Regions from separate parts of the Homo sapiens genome. Here regions 1 and 2 are each linked to region 3. The links are contacts of gene promoters, found by promoter capture Hi-C in blood cells and fetal thymus (Javierre and others, 2016). All regions are on one chromosome and are shown on one strand. The core of a region is centred on a gene start or on the middle of the fragment in contact, and the rest is flanking DNA. Distances in the headings are between cores, read along the strand shown.

Region 1 (4,564 bases), core at 1,043-3,542, 210 kb after region 3:
TTTACTTATAACAGGCAACATGGCAAGATCCTGTCTCTCCACCAGTTGGGTGGCTCATGCCTATGACCCCAGCATTTTGGGAGGCCAAAGTGGGAGGGTCTTATAAGCCCAGGAGTTTGAGACTAGCCTGGACAACATGGCCAAAACCCCGTCTCTACAAAAAATACAAAAAAATTAGCCAGGCATGGTGGTGTGTGCCTATAGCCCCAGCTACTCAGGAGGCTGAGATGGGAGGGTGAGTTGAGCCTGGAAGATCAAGGCTGCAGTGAGCCCTGATCATACTATTGCACTCCAGTCTGGGTGACAGAGCAAGAACTTGTCAAAAAAAAAAAAAAAAAAAAGAGTTTCAGCTCTTTTTCCTTAATGCAGACATGCAGCCTATCTTTCAAAAAATGACTTTGTTTGCCTGCCTTGAGCCCAATGGTCCTAATCTGTTCCACTTATCTGTTACTGTGAAAATGAACTGTTACAATTCTAACTCCAGCTTCTGAATTTCCTTCCTAACAATGTTCCACTGCTGAACCTTACTAGGAAATGTTCACTTCTTACAGTAGGTTTGGCTCTAAGCACTGTCTTTCTGGGAGAACCAGCCCAACTTTGCAGAACTATTCAAAATAGTGGTTCTTAAACATTTTGGTCTCAGAATCTCATTACACTCTTGGGCCGGGTACGGTGGCTCATGCTTGTAATCCTAGCACTTTGGGAGGCCGAGGCAGGCAGATCACTTGGGGTAATGAGTTCAAGACCAGCCTGGCCAGCATGGCAAAACCCTGTCTCTACTAAAAATACAAAAATTAGCTGTGCATGGTGGCATGTGCCTGTAGTCCCAGCTACTCAGGAGGCTGAGGCGGGAGGATCGTTTGAACCTGGGAGGCGGACGTTGCAGTGAGCCAAGGTCACGCCACTGCACTCCAGCCTGGGTGACAGAGTGAGACTCCATCTCCAAAAAAAAAGTTTTTAAATAATTAATTCATTTTAAATATTTATGATAAACCTATTATATGTAACTATAATGAATTTTTATGAACAATAACTATATGGTCCTAAATGTAAAAAAAACTAGTGAGAAGAATGGCGTTATTCTTCATTTTTGTAAACCTCTGTAATGTATGGCTTAACAGTAGAAAAGTGAATTCTTGTATTTGGATATATCTATAATGTATGATATTTTGAAATATATGAAGAAAATTTGGACTCACAAAGATATGTGGTTGGGAAAAGGAGGAATATTTTAGTAGCCTTTTCATTTTGGATATTTTTCTTTGATATTACACCCAAACTTGACAAGTTATAGTTTCTTTCTTTCTCTCTCTCTCTCTCTTTCTTTCTTTCTTGAGATGGAGTCTCACTCTGTTGCCCAGGCTGGAGTGAGTGCAGTGGCGCAATCTTGGCTCGCTGCATCCTCCACCTCCCAGGTCAAGTGATTCTCCTGCCTCAGCCTCCCAAGTAGCTGGGACTACAGGCATGTGCCCCCACACTTGGCTAATTTTGGTATTTTTAGTAGAGACGGGGTTTCACTATGTTGGCCAGGCTGGTCTTGAACTCCTGACCTCAGGTGATCCACCCACCTCAGCCTCCCAAAGTGCTGGGATTACAGGCGTGAGCCACTGCGCCCAGATGACAAGTTGTAGTTTCTTAAAGGTTAGTTGCAATGTGAAATCTAAAACCATGTCAAGGAAATCCCATTGATCTATTTTTCACTTTGAATGGATTTTTTACATATGTATGATTGATTGTATAACAGCATGTATTTTCATTTGGAAAATGTCTGAGTTATGCAGATCTTACAAATATTGTCACATGTCATTACACAATATCAGCCTAATCACATTCATTAATATCACCACCACTGATCTCATCATAAAAGTCTTTAAGTATTGAGAAGTTACTAAGCTTGAGTTTTATCATTAGTAACAAATATTTTGAGTTGTTTTCCTTGAAGTAACAGACTTACTTCATTAATTCTTGAGAAAATATCTGCCAAATACCCGAATCTGAATACCACAGTTTGTGTCATTCATTCAGGTAAAAACAGTGTTCCGTGAAAAATGTGGCTAGTTAGTTCCCAACTCAAACGGAGGTACAAGTGCTTCACCTCAAGATAACCATCATACTTCAGTACACAGCAGAAGTGCTTTGTGGGTACTTCCCATTTCATCACATGAAATATTAAAAAGATGTGCACTCAAGGGTCTGGACTTAATAGAAGTACTGCTTCGTCAGGGACATTGGTTAATAAAACTAGCTTCTGTTTTTTCTATGAGCACATGAAAGTGAAGACTACCATGTGTACCAGCACAGCTGGGTAACACTGCCTTGACTCATGCTAAGGTATCAGTGGTGTTACCTACCATTGCTTTTGCACCATCAGTGCAAATGTCAACATAATTACAAACAAAAATAGTATTAGATGATTAGCATTATTATGAAATTAGTTTGCTATTGTTAATAACATTAGAATGATAATCCTTACACTTATTATGAAAATAGTTCTTTTCTTGGTAGCCCTCTGAAAGACTCTAGGACCTTTAGGAGCCGGTGCACCACACTCTGGGAACTGCTGATTCAAGTCCATTAGGTCAGCCTTGAGGTAACAGAATGAATATATACCTGCCTATATGGAAATTAGTGCCAGGATTTAAAACTCATTAAAGCCAAGTTATGAAAACCATCAGACTTCTAAGAAGCTTATTAAATTTATTCTTCTTCATGCTAGAACAATAACAGCTAAAATACATTTAGCACTGTGCTCCTTAAATCCTTTATGTAACACTCTCTCATTTAATCCTCACAATAACCCTATAATGGTAGTGTGTTACACCAATATATACTAGTACATGATACTATGATGCTAGTGTTTTAGAACTGTCTGTCTCTAATGGACTTGTTCTTAGTTACTCTACTGCACTTCACTTTTTATCACTTATGTATTCCTTTAAAATATATTTGCATTAGTGTTAGTTTTAGTACCTGGATAGTCTGGTAAACTTGAGTATGAGTACAGTTTACATACTTAACATACTATGGGTGAATTTCCACGTAAGTGCTATTACATCACTAAGGGCAAAACATGACATTTTTCCTTCTTAGAGATCCTGATATCTACAAATATGACAACGCTCATCCGATTTCCCCAAGTTGTTTACTTTTATTAACATCTTGGTCCGTGAAAACTGGAAAGTGTAAAAGACAAAACGTCTCGAAAATTTGTTTTTGAAAAGCCAAGTGTTGAAGAAACATGAGGAACTGGCAAAATGTGTAATAAAGCTGTTCTATGCTTGATATTTTCATTTAGCTATGATGTGTGTGTTTGTGTGCACCAGCAGATCACGCGTGTTTTAAGTTGTATATTTTGTCTATGAAATAATCGTGGAAACATACAAGTCTTGGACATTCATCAAATGTTACCCAAAGCACTTTATATTTTTTAGAGAGGAGTGATCTCAACATTTTGCAGAATGTGGTGTGTATACCCCTGGTGGTTCTCAAGTTGGTTTTTAGGGGAAAAATGTTAACATCAGTGGCTGGTGCTCACCGGTGTCAGTCTTCAGCAGAGACCCTGCCCTGCCTGATGTCGGGAAGTTCCTTCTCTGCTACTCAGAAGGTAAATAGAAGCCTCATCTTGTCCCTATATGGATACACAGTGTGAGTTCCCAACTTCCTCTCCTCCAGCTTCTATCCTTTCCTACCAACATCCTTGCCCAACTTTTCCCTTCCAGATGAGAACTCCTCTCTCCCAAGGATTTGCCTAATACCCCAGGTCTAGCTGCCCTGTTACCTCTGCCAGTTATTTTCTGACAACTGTCATTTCCAGCTTCTGACCCATTTTTCCTCCCTTCTGATTAGGCATCTTCAGTCTTTCCCCTTAATGATCATGAACCAGACTTCCTGGGCTGCATCTAGTTCTGCCACTTAGGAGTTGGATGACTTTGGACCTCTATGCCTCAGTTTCTTCATTTATAAAATGGGGATAATGGTAGTACTTACCTGATAAATTTGGTCTTAAGACAGAAAGATTTCAGATACGTACAGCTCTTAAAAATGAAGCCTGATAGGCCAGGTGTGGTGGCTCACACCTGTAATCCCAACACTTTCAGAGGCCGAGGTGAGTGAATTGCTTGAGCCCAGGAGTTCAAGACCAGCCTGGGTAACATAACAAAACCCTGTCCCTACAAAAAAATAAAAAATAAATTAGCCAGGCATGGTGGTGTGTGCGTTTCATCTCAGCTACTGGAGAGGCTGAGGTGGGAGGATCACCTGAGCCCAGGAGGTTGAGGCTTTAGTGAGCTGTGTGCCACTGCACTCCAGCCTGGATGACAGAGCAAGACCCTGTCTCCAATAATAATAATAATAATAAGAAGAAGAAGAAGTAATACTTACTTAATAAGGTCAGTCTTAAGACAAGAATATTTCAGATATGTTTAAAATGGAGCCTGGCAGGCCAGGTGCAGTGGCTCACTCCTGTAATTTCAGCACTTTGGGAGGCCGAGGCTGGAAGATCGCTTGAGGCCAGGAGTTTGAGACCACCCTGAGCAACACAGAGAGATCCTCTGTCTCCCACCTA
Region 2 (4,812 bases), core at 1,518-4,017, 180 kb after region 3:
ACAACCCCATAAGGTATATAGTATGATTTTTTTTTTATAACAATTCCTATTTTCCAGATGAGGAAAATGTGCAACTGCAAACTTTCTGAACATCAACCAACACAACTGGTAATCAACAGAGCCAAAATAAACCCAGGTTCATCTAGTGCCAAAACCTGCATTCATTTCACTACAGCATACAGCCTCCTAGAAAGAGTGATGGATGAAATATACCCTGACTTCAAGATTTAAGGTTTTGCTTTCATTCCACACAATCTTTCTCAGACACTGACTGTGCTACTTAGGTGGAAGAAAGGCTTACCTGAAAGGTTCCTCCAGTGCCTTGGAACTCTCAGATTCTAACAGGGAATCTGAGAGAGTCCATTTTGTTCAATTTCCTTACCAATGAAGGAATTAAGTTGTAACACTGGCTACTGATACTAAATTGGGCAAGAACAGCTGTCTCCAATCCTGGTTTCACGTTAGAATGGTAATTCTCATCTTTGCCTACACATTACAATCACCTGCTTTTAAAAATCTAGATGCCCAGATCACATCCCAGAGCAGTTAAGTCAAATCTCTGAGGGTGGGACCAGACATCGGTATCCAGCGCAAAAGCTGCCCAGGTGATTCTAATATGCAATCAGGGATGAGAATTACAGCTTTAGAACACAGGAATAGCATTTACTAAATGACTTTGACAGATTGCTGGTGGGGAGAAGGTTCCTATCCAAAAAGATGAAACCAAAGGAAACGGGTAGATATAAACAGCAATCTGAAGTCAGCAAGAATCAAGCATGGAAACAGGTGTTTGCAAGTATCCACACAGTCCCCATTTCAAAAAAGTTTGTGAAAAGCAGACTACTATTAATCTCACCTAATTCAGGTTAAGTTAGAATTCTCAGCTGTTGGCTCCACAGCCTATACTCGATTAAATCATACTGCTTTCTACTAATACTAGCTGCCACTAATTGAGCAACTATTATGCGGCCAAATCTTGACACATTTTCTTTTTTTTTTCAGGCAGGGTCTCACTGTGTCACCCAGGCTGGAGTACAGTGGTGTAATCATAGCCTACTGCAACCTTGAACTCCTGGGCTCAAGTGATCCTCTTGCCTCAGTCACCCAAGTAGCTACAACTATAGACCTGTGCCACCATGCCCAGCTTATTTTTAAAAAAATTTTTGCAGAGACGGGTCTTGCTATGTTGCCCACGCTGTTCTCAAACTCCTGGGCTCAACCAATCTTCCTGCCTTGGGATATATTTTCATTTAGTCTTCAAACAACTTTATGAGGCAGGTCTCCATTTTACAGATGATGCATAAAAAGACACAAAATAACTTACATTTATTTCTAAACAAGTCATCTGGATCAGTGGCTCCCAACTTACAAACCATGAATCCTTTGGGGACACCGAGTTGCTTTAAGAGCACTGCCTCTATACTGAACACATCATGTTAATACACGCTGTTTTGATTCTAGAATATAAATCCTTTTAAAAGTATTACTCAATCCCTGTGTTGTTTTATCAATCTGCTGATATAAAACAACATCTAGGCTGGGCACGATGGCTCACGCCTGTAATTCCAGCACTTTGGGAGGCCAGGGCAGGCGGATCACAAGGTCAGGAGATCTAGACCATCCTGGCTAACACAGTGAAACCCTGTCTCTACTAAAAATACAAAAAATTAGCCGGGTGTGGTGGCGGGTGCCTGTAGTCCCAGCTACTCGGGAGGCTGAGCTCAGCAGGAGAATGGCATGAACCCGGGAGGCAGAGCTTGCAGTGAGCCGAGATCGTGCCACTGCACTCCAGACTGGGAGAGAGAGCGAGACTCCGTCTCAAAAAATGAAATAAAATAAAGTAAAATAAATCTATTACCATGTGAAGGTCTACAATTTTTTTTTTTTTTACATACTAAAAAGGAGTCCTCTTGTGGAGAAACTGGAACTCTCACGCATTGTTGGTAGGAATATAAACTGGTACAAGCTTCTTTGAAAATAAGTTTGGCGGTTTCTTAAAAAGTTACAGACAGGACAGGTGTGGTGGTTCACACCTGTAATCCTAGCACTTTGGGAGGCTAAGATGGACAAACTGCTTGAGCCCAAGAGTTCAAGATCAGCCTGGGCAACATGGCAAAACTGTCTCTACAAAAAATACAAAAATTAGCTGGGCATGGTGGCACATGCCTGTAGTCCCAGCTACTTGGGAGACTGAAGTGGGAGAATCACCAGAGTAGTGAGCCATGATCACGCCACTGTACTCCAGCATGGGTGACAGAGTGAGACCCTGTCTCAAAAAAAAAAAAAAAAAAAAAAAGGTTACAGACATACCATATAGCAATTCCACTCCTAAATATCTACCCAAAAGAAATGAAAGTGTAAGTCCAAAGACTTGTACATGAATGTTCCTAACAGCACTATTCATAATAGTTGAAAATTGGAAACAATCCAAATCTCCATTAACTGGTTATGGATAAACAAAATGCAGTATATTCACACAATGGAATACTAAAAAAGGAACTATTATGTGCTATAACACGAGTGAACCTCACAGACGTGATGCTAAGTGAAAGAGGCCAGACACAAAAACTATATATTGCCTGATTCCATTTATATGAAATATCCAGAAAAGGAAAATCAATACAGACAGAAAACAGATCAGTGTTTTCCTGGGGCTGCGGGTGGGGACAGGAGTGAAGACTGAATGCAGAACGATATGGGGGAACTTTTTGGGGTAGCAGAAATGTTCTAAAATTGGATTATGGTGATGGCTGCACAACTCTGTACATATGCTAAAAATTGAATTATACATTTACAGTGGGTGAATTTATAAACTGTAAATTATACTTCAATAAGGCTGTTTCAAAATATTGTAGAAGGTCATTGGATTAGGTTTTAAAAAGGGGGTTCCTTACACTGAAAGACTGGGAACCAGTGATCTGGACAATGGAAAAGGAATTCAGCAAGATTAAGTATATATTAAGAGAAGTGAAATAATTCTCTGGGTGGGTTCAACCTTTTAGTAAATGGTCAAGTTTGCTATACATTTGAACCACAGAACTAAGTAACATATGCTTAGCTGGCTTGTGAATCTAGTTCTAACACATACGAAGTTTCCAGATAAGGTGCTCAGCCCTGTGGGGGAGGTGCCCTGAGTGCACAGTCCTTGACTCAATGGAGTCAAATACATGAATTAACCGTAAGAGATGACAGAATGTAAATGACAAAAGAAAGGGACTAAAGCACTCTAGTTGGTAAGTAGGAGAGATCAAAGCTGGTGGGAGAAGAACAGCAAAGTTCTCATGAAGGAAGTGGCAACTGAGCCTGGCCTTCAGGACTGGGGGAAATTCCAACGGTGGTACAAGTAGAAAGAAGAGGCAGGGCTGGAAATGTGTGCTAGGTCCAGAAGGTACAGGGCTTTGAATGCCATGCCCTTTCTTATTTGTTATGCCAAGGGAGTCCCCTAAATGCAGTAAGAGTTGTTTAGAGCTTCCAAAGAGGAAGGTATCTGACAATGGGAAAAAATGGAGGAGCAGAGCTTAAAGGCAAGGAGATGTTTCAGGTTATTGCATAAAGTTAAGAAAGCTTCAACAAGCTTTCCCTTCCCACTGCAAGTGGGAAGGGGCAGACTCTTGAATTCTCTGGTCTTGGGGCAAGGGAGGGAAGATCCATCTTGAATTATGTGTCCTCTCTTGAGGGTTTCAGCTTTGTCACTTTCCCTGACTCTCATAAGATTTGTCTGTCTCTCCCACTGACAGTTAAAAGTCCATAACCTATAACTTTAGCAGACTGTATTTTCAGAAGACATGTTTTCACTCATTTTTTTTTCAAACAAAGGATTCTATTTGGTAAATAAATTCCTTTCATTTTAGGGAAGTAACATGACATACAAATAATTTTTTTTATTTTTTAATTTTTTTTTAGAGATGGGAGTCTCACCATGTTGCCCAGGGTGGTCTCGAACTTCTGGGATCAATCCTCCCACCTTGGCCTCCCAAGTGTTGAGATTACAGGTGTAAGCCACCACACCCAGCCAAGAATGGTTTGCTTTTTTTTTTTTTTGAGATGGAGTCTCGCTCTGTCACAGGCTGTAGTGCAGTGCCGTGATCTCGGCTCACTGCAACCTCTGCCTCCTGGGTTCAAGCGATTCTCTTGCCTCAGCCTCCTGAGTAGCTGGGATGAAAGGCACGCGCCACCACACTTGGCTAATTTTTGTATTTTCAGTAGAGACGGGGTTTCATCATGTTGGCCAGGATGGTCTCGATCTCCTGACTTTGTGATCTGCCCGGCTCAGCCTCCCAAAGTGCTGAGATTACAGACGTGAGCCACTGCACCGGTGCAAGAATGGTTTTTTAATTCAAACTCTGCTGGTTTTCAAAATAGATGTTACTTTTGAAAGATGCCTCAATCCGATGCTACATTAAATTTTATTTTGGTTTTTGAGGAATAATTCAAATACTAAGCAGAATGCAAGGCTTCGAGTTGACTTGAAGTAACTGGTAGGTAGGTTCTATGTAGGGCTCCTTTTAAATATTGAAGTTCTTCTTTAATAATAGCTTTCTGTCTGCTAGGTTTTTAAGTAAACAGACTGCATAAAACAAAACATGATCGTTTAAGTAAACAGAATTACTTTGCAAAGATTTTTACACCTTGTTTTTCAAAGATTTTTTATAACACACATTTACCTAAACCACAGGTTTACTGGCTGTGACCTTAGATGAGTCACATCCTCCTACGGCCTTAGTGCTTTCTTCAACTGTGAGATCAAAAGGTCAGACTAGACAAGAGCTAAATAACATGGGTTAACCTTGCCCTTCAACAACTGTAATATGC
Region 3 (4,787 bases), core at 512-3,011:
TGGTCTCAAATTCCTGGCCTCAAGGAATCCTGCCTCAGCCTCCCAAAGTGCTAGGATTACAGGCTTGAGCCACCATGTGCCTGGCCCTTAATTTTGAGGTTTATAGTGCCATATGCTAGAAACGAAAGCCATGGTAAAACCAGAGCTTTGTATTTAGGTGTTGATGTTTGGGTATCTAAATGAAGCTACCAATCAAACATCCTATACAGTTTTCTAGACACAGTTGTAACTATTACACTAGAATTACTGTTTCTATGGCTGCTGCATACTTGGAGTAGGTTTAGTGTCAGCTGAGATAGGCACCTGGTGGATGCTGGGGCCAGTCCCCTAGAGTAAAGTTTTTCAAACTGGGTGGTGCTCCAACTCGGTGGTAACCAATTTATATTTTCGAGATAGTCTCAAATATATTTGAGACTGGGGTGCAGTGGCTTGGACTTGGCTCACTGCAACCTCCGCCTCCTGGGTTCAAGTGATTCTCCTGCCTCAGCCTCCCAAGTAGCTGCAATTACCGGAGGCTGCCACCACACCGGGCTAATTTTTTTGTTGTTGAGACAGTCTCGTCCTGTCACCCAGACTGGAGTGCAATGGTATGGTCTCAGCTCACTGCAACCTCTGCCTCTCGGGTTCAAGCGGTTCTCCCACCTCAGCCTCCCCAGTAGCTGGGACTACAGGCATGTGCCACCACTCGGCTAATTTTTGTACTTTTAGTAGAGACGGGGTTTCACTATGTTGGCCAGGCTGGTCTGGAACTCCTGACCTTGTGATCTGCCCGCCCTGTCCTCCCGAAGCGCTGGAATTATACAAGGGTGAGCCACCGCACCCGGCCTTTTTTTTTTTTTTTTTTTTTTTTGGTATTTTTAGTAGAGACAAGGTTTTGTCATGTTGACCAGGCTGGTCTGGAAATCCTAACATCAGGTTGATCTACCCACCTCAGCCTCCCAAAGTGCTGGGATTACAGGCGTGAGCCACCATGCCTGGCCCCAGTATTTAAAGAGAAAGCAGCATCTGCTGAGAATAGGTGTTTTTGTTGTGATTCCTGTATTTCACTTAGAGATCTGTCTGCTGGAACATGATATATTCATTCTAACTAGGTCTGTGTCAAAGGTTTGAAAGCCACTGCTAACAGGGCTGACAACTAAGCTGTGGAGACCCTGTTCCCTAAATTGCAGCCACGTCTGCACGTAGCCTCTTGCCCTGTGGCCTTCAAAACTCCCAGCCTGGGGCGTCCAGCATTTCCCCAGGGCAGGGGCCTCGTTCAGTTCTGAACCTTCCCTGACCTCCGTATCCAGCCACGTTTGCTAACCCTGTACAAGTCATCCGCCAACTGAACTACAAACTGAGGACAAAAGACTAGTTCACCGACTCTTTTACCTAGTTTTTAGTTCCTGCTATCTAGGAAGCAACACTTGTTTTTCTAAAGAACTTAGTCATCACTCAGGAAAGGCCCACGTAGGGCTGGCCCTGCGGGCTGGAAGTGGGTCAGGGGCTGCAAGGCGGGCCCATAGCGTTACACCGCGGGCTCACCACGTTACAAGCGCTAGTCTCCCACGAGGCGCCCGGGGCTGAAGAGCGGGCCCTGGGGAGGAGGCCTTGTGGCTCGGGCGCGGGCCAACTTTAAGCCCGTGATCCGGCTGCCCGGGCTGCAGCGGCCGCCGTCCTGCCCGGGGGCACCAAGCCCGGGGCCCTGCCCCCGCTGGCTCCCGGCCTCGCCCTGCCGCGTGGGCCACGCTGTGACCCGGAAGCGTTCCGGAAGCGGTTCCGGAGTCAGCCCCGGCAGGATGGCGGCGGACACGCAGGTGAGGCGGGCGGCTGCGGGGCCAACGCGGCCAGGGACTGGGTGCGGACGGTGGCCGTCGGGCGGGGCCCCTCTCGCTCCTCGGCTTAGGGGCGTTGGAGGTGGTGGCTGTGGAGGTCGTAGTCTCGGGGCCGTCTCAGGCTGGACTCTCAGGGCTGCGGGCTTGGCCCGGCCCGGGCGGCGCAGGCAGACCGCGGGCTCGAGGAGTCCGGGGCTCCCGCCTCGACTTCAGCAGCTGGAGCTCGGCGGGGCCTTTGCCCGACCCCAGAGTTGCAGAAGTTCACTTTACCGAGCCTCTACTTCTTTTCTCCAAAGCCCTCCGGCTGTGAGCCCCGGGCCAACGCCAAGTCTTCCTTAAACTTTGTATTCAGCAAATATTCTTTGAGCACCTACTATGAGCAGGGACTTTGAGTGTAGTCTTTGGATTCATACAGATCTGGGCTTGAGTTCCTGCTCGTCGATTTCTGTGACATGCCAAACAAGTGACTTAACCCCGCCAAGTCTGCCTTTTCATCTATAAAATGAAGTTAAAACAATACTTATCTTAAAAGGTTGTTGTGAAGGTTCAGTGAGATAAAATACGGCTTGATATATGTTGGTTGTTATCAGATCCAGGGTTAGTGAAAAGAACTGTCCTGTCCAGGAAGAGTGTTACCTATGGGTACCTTGTAGTTCAGGAAGGACCTGGGAAAACCTTTTCCTCCACCCAGTTGTTATGTTTTAAGGTGAAAAGACATTGTCATGAGGCAGGGGAAGAACAGGTGTCTAAGGACAGCTGGGCTGATTTGGTGTCTCCAGGGTGATGGGATTGATTTTTATGTGTAGGCCCAGAAAATGACCACTTAAGCATTCAAAAAGACATTTACTGAGACTCCTATGCAGGTGGCTGATGTTCAAGTTATGTTGTACTGAATACTAGAAAGAAAAGCTTAGTATGAGAGGGTTAGGGGAATACATGCTGAATGTTTAACATTGATACTCACTTGAGGGAAAAATCTCTAGAGCTGCAATGTCCAGTATGGCAGCCACATGGCTTAAGTTTGTTAAAATTAAATTAAATAAAAAAATTCATTGTTTGGCTGGGCGTGGTGGCTCACCCTGTAATCCCAGCACTTTGGGAGGCCAAGGCGGGTGGATCAGTTGAGGTCAGGAGTTTGAGACTAGTCTGACCAACGTGGCAAAACCCCGTCTCTACTAAAAATGCAAAAAATTAACCGGGTATGGTGGCATGTCTGTAATTCCAGCTACTCAGGAGGCTGAGGCATGAGAATCGCTTGAACCTGGGAGGCAGAGGTTGCAGTGAGCTGAGATCGCACCACTGCGCTCCAGCCTGAGCAACAAGAGTGGGACTCTGTCTCAAAAAAAAAAAAAATTTAGTTCTTCACTTGTACCAGCCACATTTCAGTGCACAGTTAGCCACATGTAGCCAGTGGCTACCGTATTGGGTGGTGCAGGAGAATATTTCTGTATTTTATAATTTTTGTATTTTTAGTAGAGATGGGGTTTCTCCATGTTGGCCAGGCTGGTCTCGAATTCCTGACCTCAGGTGATCCTTCTGCCTTGGCCTCCCAAAGTGCTGGGATTACAGGCGTGAGCCACCGCACCTGGCCTGAAATTATTTTTTATTATTTTATTTTATTTTTTGAGACGGAGTTTCTCTCTTGTTGCCCAGGCTGGAGTGCAATGGCACGATCTGAACTCACTGCAACCTCTGCCTCCCAGGTTCAAGCAATTCTCCTGCCTCAGCTTCCCGAGTAGCTGGGATTACAGGCATGCGCCACCATGCCCGGCTAGTTTTTGTAGAGACAGGGTTTCACCATGTTGGGTAGGCTGGTCTCGAACTTCTGACCTCAAGCAATCTGTCCGCCTCTGTCTCCCAAAGTGCTGGGATTACAGGCGTGAACCACCATGCCCGGCCTTGTCTTCAGTATTCTTTTTTTTTTTTTTTCGAGACGGAGTCTCGCTCTGTCGCCCAGGCTAGAGTGCAGTGGCACAATCTTGGCTCACTACAACCTCTGCCTCCCGGGTTCAAGCGATTCTTCTGCCTCAGCCTCCCAAGTAGCTGGGATTACAGGCACCCGGCACCACGCCCAGCTAATTTTTTTTTTTGTATTTTTAGTAGAGACGCGGTTTCACCATGTTGGCCAGGATGGTCTCGATCTCCTGACCTTGTGATCTGCCTGCCTTGGCCTCCCAAAGTGCTGGGATTACAGGCGTGAGCCACTGCACCCAGCCTTGTCTTCAGTATTCTAAAGGAAAATGATTTCAACCTAGAATTCTGTATTTGGCCAGAACATTTTCATACTTGCAAGGAGTTTACAAAATGGAGGCTGTGCTTCACCCAAACACAAGAAAGTACATGTTCAGGGTGATAAACTGTGCCCCAGCTGTAGAGGATCACATGCCTAATTGGGGCAGGTCAGAAAACTCTGGGAGAGATTTCCTTAGGAAGGTGGAATTTGATGGAATACCTGATCTCCCTAAATGTACTGAGATTTAGACAAATGGCAAAAAGTTTGGGTTTTAATTATTTATAAGAACAGATAAAACAAGTCAAACTGAAGTGAGGTGGGAAAGGGTAATTATTAACACCAGGGGCATAAAAAAGCTGGGAAGAATCAGAGTTTATTAAATGGATGTTGAATGCCATTTACATATAATGTAATCACTGACTACTGACCTAGCCTGTATGTGAAACTGGGGACTTCCACTGGGGAAATGGGGAGGGTGTGCGATGGGGTCACAGCAGGAAAGGGAGCTGTGGTGGAAAGGTAGCAAAACTGAAAAATCAAGAAGCACATGCAAGTTACCTCCATATTTAGAGATACTTAGATATATGGAGGTAACTACCCAAATATCCACCAGATCAACCTAAGGGTTGCCCATGGAGAGTGAGGGCAAGGGACTGGTTTTTATGGCAGACTTCTCAGAACTCTTTGGTTTTGACTCTGTGTGCATCTATGACTATAAAAACAAAAGACATTTTAAAGTT

Evidence for each region. Contacts are between HindIII fragments. The CHiCAGO score rates a contact against its expected background, and 5 or more counts as called.
Region 1: a contact is called between a fragment that was not itself captured here and the fragment with the promoter of GCN1 in region 3, in 2 of 17 cell types (activated CD4 T cells and naive CD4 T cells). The highest score is 7.0, in activated CD4 T cells.
Region 2: a contact is called between a fragment that was not itself captured here and the fragment with the promoter of GCN1 in region 3, in 2 of 17 cell types (activated CD4 T cells and total CD4 T cells). The highest score is 7.0, in activated CD4 T cells.

The regions. Positions count from the first base shown.
Region 1 is chr12:119,982,181-119,986,744 of GRCh38, reverse strand. No RefSeq gene overlaps it. Among named protein-coding and RNA genes, the nearest start is that of BICDL1, 4.8 kb to the left of the region's middle. RefSeq lists a silencer at 841-1,022. The HindIII fragment of the contact is 794 bases long and covers 1,896-2,689 here.
Region 2 is chr12:120,013,919-120,018,730 of GRCh38, reverse strand. The region is part of intron 2 of BICDL1 (BICD family like cargo adaptor 1); the gene reads right to left. Among named protein-coding and RNA genes, the nearest start is that of BICDL1, 27 kb to the right of the region's middle. The HindIII fragment of the contact is 1,598 bases long and covers 1,969-3,566 here.
Region 3 is chr12:120,191,689-120,196,475 of GRCh38, reverse strand. GCN1 (GCN1 activator of EIF2AK4) reads left to right here and starts at 1,761. Exons shown (of 58, transcript NM_006836.2): 1 at 1,761-1,796. The coding sequence starts at 1,779. RefSeq lists a silencer at 1,464-2,053. The HindIII fragment of the contact is 5,843 bases long and covers 1-2,725 here.